3 separate regions of the Homo sapiens genome follow, and all the other regions are linked to region 1. Evidence: promoter capture Hi-C in 16 types of primary human blood cells and fetal thymus (Javierre and others, 2016). All regions are on one chromosome and are shown on one strand. The core of a region is centred on a gene start or on the middle of the fragment in contact, and the rest is flanking DNA. Distances in the headings are between cores, read along the strand shown. Region 1 holds the start of OR52B2 (olfactory receptor family 52 subfamily B member 2). Region 2 has its middle 15 kb from the start of CAVIN3. Region 3 holds the start of OR56A1 (olfactory receptor family 56 subfamily A member 1).

The links. Contacts are between HindIII fragments. The CHiCAGO score rates a contact against its expected background, and 5 or more counts as called.
Region 2: a fragment that was not itself captured here is called in contact with the fragment with the promoter of OR52B2 in region 1 in 1 of 17 cell types (monocytes); the score reaches 5.6 in monocytes.
Region 3: a contact is called between a fragment that was not itself captured here and the fragment with the promoter of OR52B2 in region 1, in 4 of 17 cell types (M1 macrophages, M0 macrophages, M2 macrophages and 1 more). The highest score is 8.5, in M1 macrophages.

What each region holds. Positions count from the first base shown.
Region 1 is chr11:6,169,009-6,171,766 of GRCh38, forward strand. OR52B2 (olfactory receptor family 52 subfamily B member 2) reads right to left here and starts at 1,318. Exons shown (of 1, transcript NM_001004052.1): 1 at 347-1,318. The coding sequence starts at 1,318. The coding sequence ends at 347. The HindIII fragment of the contact is 5,039 bases long and covers 856-2,758 here.
Region 2 is chr11:6,303,802-6,306,559 of GRCh38, forward strand. No RefSeq gene overlaps it. Among named protein-coding and RNA genes, the nearest start is that of CAVIN3, 15 kb to the right of the region's middle. RefSeq lists an enhancer at 1-458. The HindIII fragment of the contact is 1,561 bases long and covers 623-2,183 here.
Region 3 is chr11:6,028,973-6,031,730 of GRCh38, forward strand. OR56A1 (olfactory receptor family 56 subfamily A member 1) reads right to left here and starts at 1,786. Exons shown (of 2, transcript NM_001388488.1): 1 at 1,730-1,786. The region is part of intron 1 of LOC107984303 (a long non-coding RNA gene); the gene reads left to right. The HindIII fragment of the contact is 1,300 bases long and covers 769-2,068 here.

The DNA of each region.
Region 1 (2,758 bases), core at 68-2,567:
TAAAACCCCTTAAAATGGTAAATATAAAATTATTTTTATCCACTTCTTTATAACCTCATTTCATGTGGTGTTCAGATCCCTGCGCTTCTGGCGTCTATCTAGTCTACTGAGGGTACCAAAGCCTCATATCAGAGGCATGTACACTTAGTTATTATTTCTGGGTTGTAGGGAGGAATATGTAAAGAGGTTAGAGAAAACAAACAAGAGAAGGAGGAAGAATTATGAGAAAAGAAAGAAAAGTTGGGGGCGGAAGATGAAATAGAAAGAAGAGGAAGAAAAGCCTTCTCAGTCCAGGAAATCTCTGTATTTCACATCTAGCTTCCTTGAAGGAGCTGGACATGAAGATTCATGAGCCCAGAGGGGAGGTACAGCACCAAGTCTTGATGTCAAAGAACCGGTGGGCTACACCCTCACGTATCTGCTTAGTCTTCACACCATAGACAATGGGGTTCAGCATTGGTGGCACTGCCACATAAAGATTGGCCAGCAAGATATGGACATGTTGAGGAATATTACGCCCAAAATGATGGGTCAATAAGGTAAAGAAGGATGGAACATAAAACATAAGGATGACACAGAGGTGGGAGCCACAAGTGCTGAGGGCCTTGTGCCGAGCATCCTGGGAGGGCAAACGAAACACTGCTCGGAGGATCAGTGAGTAAGACACAGCGATGAGGATAACATCCAAGATGACCATGACAATGGGCACTGAGAAGCCATACCAAATGTTAACAGTGATGTCAGCACAGGCTAAACGAGCCACTCCAATATGCTCACAGTAGGAGTGAGGAACAATGTTGGTTAGGCAGAAGGGCAGCCGCTTCAGCAAGAATATGACTGGGAAGATGATGCAGAAGCTTCGGGTGATGACGGCCAGAGCAATCCTCCCCACAACAGGCCATGTTAGCACTGTTGTATATCTCAGTGGGGCACAAATGGCCACAAAGCGATCAAAGGCCATGGCTAACAGGATAGCTGACTCCCCCACAAACATCATATGGACAAAGAAGCCTTGGGTGACACAGGCATCAAAAGCAATGTTATGTGCTTGAAGCCAAAAGATGGCTAGGGCCTTGGGCACAGTGGTGGTAGACAGCAGGATGTCCATGACGGCCAGCATTGAGAGGAAGAAATACATGGGCACATGAAGGTTACGTTCCATGACAATAACCACTATCAGGATGCTGTTTCCCAGGACTGCAGTGATGTAAATGAGGCAAAGAGGTATTGACAGCCAAATGTGATAAGCCTCCAACCCAGGGATGCCAGGAAGGACAAAAACTGCAGGATGGAAGATGGTAACATTGGTGTGACTCATGATGCACTTTATGGTCCTCTCTATAATGACTTAGAAGCTGATGAGTCTACTGAAAGTGATAGAAACAGAAAGCACTCCCGAATATGTATAAATATCATAAAAGACAGCATGGATTTCTAAATTGCTGGACTCTCCAGCAGCAAGTACTCCCAGAGAATGTTCACTTGGTATAGGAATGGCTTCTGGCCCATAGTGCTTCCTTTGCAGATAGAGCTTCTGTGGCAATAATGCTTCAAGTATGAACAGAAGTGGCAGCACCTTCCTGCAACCACCCTGCCCCCAGAGTTTGGCCTCACTCTCCCTTTCTGACCTCATTCTACTATTTCCACACAAGCAGCATTTTCCACCTACCTGTGTTGTACTTGTCCCTTTCCCCAAGATTTTGTTCTGCATTTACCTTTAATTTCCCTCCCCTTCTACTTCTGTTTAACAAAATTTTAACCTTAAAATAAGTCCTCAAGACATACCACTTTGTAATGGTCTGTGTTCATAGCAATATATCTCCTTCCTAAAAAACTATTAACTAAACTATATTTTAACTGGGTTATATTTAATCCTATTAAGTTTATCTGGCTATTGCCTTGAACATTTCACAGGACACTTGCACCTCTGGCCCCTTGTGCAAGGGAGTAGAGTATCAAGTGGGAATCCAGAGGAAGCCTAGAGGGGTACATTTCTCCACTCTGATCCAGATTCATATCTTCCCTAATGCAGTGAGCAATGGGGCAGCCAATGAAACTGAGACAGGCAATTTTCATCACCAGCTCCTCATGGACTTCTCATGCTCCTCCTCAAATATTTCTATACAGGAGCCTCTTGGTTATGTCTGGGCTTCCTTATCTGTAGAAGCCCCCCAGGAAAACGATTCTGAGCAAAAGAAATCAATCTATTGCCCACCTGTAAACTCTGCTGACTCCACTAATACTGCCCTTCTTCCCACCCCACTGTTCCCCAACGCTCAGAAGGAACCATGTTTCCCTGCTGCCAAGAAGGATTAAGTATAGAGCCCTTCTTGGCTTGCCTGCCACTCAGGTAATATTTGTTTCATTCTGAAGTTCTGAACTATCTGTCAGCTATTAGGACTAGGGAAAGAGTGTATGATTAAGAATCTAGAAGGGAACATGAAGAAAAGGGACCACAGAGACAGTAAAGAGAGAATCAGAACTATAAAGGTACCAAATAAACACTAGACTGATCTTCTGATAATGGTATTCAGAGGGCCCCAAAGAAGAGATGCAAAGGAATCAAATCCTCAGTTTATTAGTCCATCCCTCTGCCTCTATGCAAATGAACTTTCTCAGAGCACAGTGGGCTGTGGGGAGGGAGCAATGGGACTCCAGATGGGTACAAGGAAGGGAATAGAGCCAGATCCAGACAAGTAAAGGCCGCAGGCAGGCTAATAATCTGACAGCATTCAAGTCAGTATATTTTAAATATTTG
Region 2 (2,758 bases), core at 153-2,652, 130 kb after region 1:
TGCCCTTTGCATAACAATGATGTTCGTGAGAGGCATGACTCTTAAGCCGACATGAGTCTCTGTGACTTTAAATCCTCCTTGTTCCTTTCAGACAAACTGCTGACAAGCCTGGTCAGCATGCACTGACCTGAATGCCCTTTTCTACATCATTAAACCCCTTTTTAACTTCCCGCTGTGGGGATGATGTGTGTCTGCACCGGATCCACACTATGTTTCTTCCCCCTTTCTGTTTAATCACACCTAAATCAAAAGCAGAAAATCACAGTTAAAGCTAATTTGTATCATATTAAATATTAAAATCCATATTAAAATTAATGACATGGTGATATGGTGAGACCCCTTAATAACACTACCATGTGACAGTTTTCTATTTTCACTTACTATTGCTATTAACTTCGTGTTGGCATCAGTTGTTCTCTACAGGTGACAAGTGCATTTGATAGCAGCATATATATGTAAATAACTTACGAATGACAAAATTTTTATAATTTTTTTAAAAATACAAAATTAAACCCTCTAAAAAACTAATTTTTAAGATATCTCTGAAAAATACACAGATATATACGTACTCCTACCCTTTTGTGTCTTACCCTAAAAATTACTCTTTGCAAATAATCTTATAAGCTTTCACTCCCTTTTATTTTGCTTTGCTGGTGGCTCTGATGGTATATGTTCACTGGTGCCTTTTTGGGGGAACATTCCAGAACCCTGTTCTATTATACCACAGACACAGAAAGGTGTTCTGATAATGAGTACTAGTATTTTGGAAAATAAAACAAAAAACAAAATTTCACCACATCCTTGTGAGAATATTTCTACACATTCCTGGAGTTTGTCTGATGTGCTATCATTGGCAAGGTAGAAGGTCATCCTAAATTAACTTGGATCTTTTTCCATTATGGATCATATGCAGAAGCATGAATTGTAGAGTCTTCACAACAGAAATAGCTTGTTCTGTATTACAGGACTCCAGAGTGAGTGAGGGATTCATCCTGACTAACAATAAATATTGTTACATTAATGCTTCAGCACAGTCTCTTATATTGAGTACTGTAGAGAAAGAGGCATAGAATAAGTTTATTACTAACTAAGAAAAAAATAATAAACTCAACTTTCTCTTTACCAAACAATTTATCCGGAATTACAACCTGTATCATTGCAATGTTTTTATGAATTCTAGGCAATATCTTCTAACTTAAAAAATAAGTAAAACTAAAAAAAAAAAAAAAGAAAAAGAAGTGGTAAAACTTAAAGCTCCCCCATCTCACCCTTCATCACATACTAGCAGAATATCTTTCACCAATTCTTAACTATAGATACCCATGTAAGAAATAGTCTGTTTAATGGTCACATCAGGCATCAATCAAATGTTGAGGTTTACCAATCTTGGCAATATTGACATTTTGGATAGGCTAATTATTTGTTGTAAGGTACTATCATGTGCATTGTAAGACGTTTAACAACATCCCCGATGTCTGTCTACTAGGTGCCAGTTGTGACACTAAAAAGTGTCTCCAGACATTGGTAAATGTCCCCCCTGGGGTCGGTGGTGGAGGGTATGCCTGCAGTTGAGAACAACTGGTCTAGAGAAAAGAGGGTAATTGACCTAGTTTAGATGGAGTGCATAGTGCTGGGTCAGTTCGCTGTGAATCAGCGAGCAAGGATCAGTAAAGTACAGCATAATTCTATTTGAATATATGTGGCTGCTCCTTTAATCAGTGCTGAAAAGTCAATCTGCTAAGTGAGTGTTTACCACACTGCGGAGATTCCCTCTAGGGTTTGGCTTTTGTAGCTTTGCTCTTTGTTGAAGTTGTGCTATGATCTGAATGTTTGTGTCCCCCAAAAACTCATATGTTGAAATCTTAACAGACAAGGTGATGATATTACAAGGTGGCACCTTTGGGAGGTGATTAGAGATTAGATCATGAGAATTAAAGGGATTAATGTCCTTATAAGAAAGGCCTAAGAGAGAGTCCACAGCCCTTCTACCATGTGAAGACATAGAGAAAAAGCACCATCTGTGAACTAGAGAGCAGACCCTTACCAGATGCTGGATCTGCCAGCATCTTGATTTTGGACTTCCCAGTCTCCAGAAGTATGAGAAATAAATTTCCGTTGTTTATAAGCTACTCAGTTTATTGTATTTTCTTATAGTAACCACAACAGACTAAAACATGCTATTAAGCTTTTTAATTTATTATATTTATTTTTAATTTTTGCCTGTAGTTACTTCTTGTTTTTGAAGTTTTTCCCCTGTTTTAGGTATTTCTATTATCCTTACAGTTTTAGTATTCTGCCATCTTCAAGTAAGCTTTAAGTTGATTTTTGTTCAATGTGAGTTAGAATGTTGTTTTTTTCTATTTACTTTCCTCTCATTAGTATAACCTGAAATCTGCTAGGCAAAATGTGTGGGTTTTATTGTGTCTGTATTTCAGGAAGAAATAAAGGGTGGATGGTCATGTCCATATATTTGAGGCTCACTTGTTTATAAACCTTGGAAGTCGAGAGCCAAGTTAGCAGCTAGTTGAAAAGGATTAGAAGAACAAACCTCTCACTATCATAAAGTCCAATGTATTTAACAGTCTGGCTGGGTAATTAATGCTTAAACGTCAAAATGAGTCTGCTTGAAGTATTCTCTTAGATCCCCCAACCCACTGATTTAGAGAAAAGATCAAGATTTCAGCCCTTCCCTTGATAGAAATGTTGCAAGCTGAGTTTGAGAAACTCAGAAGAGAAATCCTAAAACATGAGAACTTTC
Region 3 (2,758 bases), core at 169-2,668, 140 kb before region 1:
GTCTTTTGCAGCAACGTAGATAGAACTGGAGGCCATTATCTTAAATGAAACAAGCCAGACACAAAAAGACAAATATTGCATGTTCTCACTCATAAGTATGTGTTCAAAATGTGTACATATAGATGTAGAGAGTGAAATGATTGACAATGGAGACTCAGAAGGGTGAGGCGGGTGAGAGGGGGTGGATAATGAGAAATTACTTAATGAGAATAATGTACATCATTCAGGTGATGGATACCCTAAAAGCCCTGACTTAACTACTATACAATCTATGCATGGAACAAAATTGCACTTTGATCCTATAAATTTATATAAAATTTTGTAAGACTTATAAATAATGTGTATATACTCTCATCCTTTTCTTGTTTCCTTTCATTAAAATAAATAATCTGTCCATCTTCAAGAATTGATCCCATCTCTCCCAGCTTTGAATTCTGGCTCTTTCTCTAACTCTCCCCTTCCCTTCATGCACAAACCTCTCACAAGCATTTACACTCACTGTCTCCATTCCCTCACCTTACATCCATTCCACAACTCACTTCAATTTGGCTTCCATCTCCATTAGTTCCACAAAATAGCTCTCAGAAATCACCTACAGCTTCCCTATTGTTAAATCTTGTTGAAACAGTTGATCAAATCCTCTTCCTTGAAACACTCTCTTTGGCCTAATTCATATATCACAGACTTCTAGTTTACCTTGTACCTCCTGGTCACTCCCTCTCATTTTCTCGAACACATCCATCATCCACTACCTTGACGTCAGTTTAAAGCTTCAGTCCTACATTTTCTTCGCTTTTCTTCTTTCCTCTCTGATATTCTGTTTTCCCTTCTTCCACTTCTTTTATCTTGTCTATGTCATTAGACAATTACCATCTCTATTACTAAATTACTGAATTATGTTTCTTACTTAGACCTCTCCAGAAGCCTACTTTATGTATCAACCTGGGTTTCCCAAAGATATTCAAAGCTCACCAAGTCCAAAATTTAAAAACCTGGTCTTTTGCCAGCATCTCAGTGACTGGTGTAAATATTTGTCAGTTTTAGAAGCCAGCGCCCAGAAAATGTCTTGAACATTTATTCTACCCATTGAAAATGATACGAAGTACATGATGAAACCACTAAGACATGTCATTTTCCCTTTTAATTAGCCCTGGAATCCATCCACTTCTCCATATCCACTCTCACCATCCAAGTACTATTACCTCGAGTAAAAAGTAAATATTGCCTCCTAATGCAGTCTAGGTTTCTTTATAAACCATTCTCTACATTGAAATCAAGGAAATGTTTTTAAATATAAATATTACCAGTCATCTGATTAAAATATTTCAGTGGCTTCTCATTGCTAATATTATAAAAAGGAAATTTTTTACTTGAACTTCATGAGACCATAAGTTCATGAGGGAAGAAACCATGTGTGGTTTTTCTTTTATCATCACTATATAAACAGGGTATAGATAGATTGCTAGGTACACATAGTTAACTGACTACATTATGAAAGGAAGGAAGGAAGGAAAAGGAAGGAGGAAGGGAGGGAGGGGAGGAAGGAAAGCAGGCAATGCCATATATTATCTACCTCCTTCCTCATTTTCCAGTTCCATCTAACACCCCATCTCCCTTGCTCCCTGAGCTTCAGCCACACCGTCCTTTCAGATCTTCGAACGTTACATGAGCTTTCTGATCCCACTTCTCTTGGAAGGCTGTGCATCTTATGCTTCTACACAACACTTACTTTCTCCTCATCCTTTACATCTCAATTCAAATACTCTCTTCTCTGAGAGGTTTGTTCTAACCCCCTTTACACAAGATCAAGTCCTCCTATTTTATGTTTCTGTAGTACTTTGAACCATCCTCATCATCTGTAGTTATACATTTATATGATAAGTTGCTTACATACTCCTTCTTCCAATGCCCAATTAGACATTTCATGCCATGAAAATAACATCAATTAGCCCAGTGCTTGACATGAAATGGCTAAAAATATTTGTAGAGTGAGTTAATTAGACATATGAGCAGAATAATAGGAAGGCACAAAGGAAAATTTCTGAACTCAACCCTAGAGGAAAAGAGAAGCTTTCCTAAAGCTGCTAACAACTTAGCTGAGTTTTATTTCAATAGATGTGGAGGATTTACATGCATTAAATCTGTGTAGTGTATTGAAGATATAAAAAATGGATTATGTGAAAGCATGGAGATGAGTCTGAGAATAACTTTGGAAGGAAATTCTATGCAATATTTAATCTGACTGGAGCCAAAAGGATGAGGAGTTGAAAGAAAGAGCCAAAAATGGAGTTGATAAAAGAAAAAGCCAGATCTTAAGTACATTTTCTATGCTGAAGATTTTAGAACTAGTCATATGGATGAAAAGAAATGGAAAAAAATATTTCCATTAGAAGAGAGACATGACCAGATTTAGGGTACGTACAGAAAGATCACTCTGGACACATTATTATGCATGAACTTGGGTAAGGCAAGAGAGCAGAAATAGAAAGAATGGCGGCCGCAATAGCCAAGGTGAGAAGTGACGTGCAACTGAACAAAGGCTGAGGCACTGAGGATGGGAAGAAGGTGAATCTTCCAGAAGTCATATAGACAGAACTTATTGACAGATTTGTTTTAAAGGAGAAAATAGGTGAGAAGCCCAGAGTGACCCCCGGTTTACTAGCTTGAGTAAATAAGTTGCATCACCAAGATGTAAAATACAGCTAAATGAGTAAGATTAGTGTGTACTGGGATATGTCAAGAACGAGGTGTTTATAAT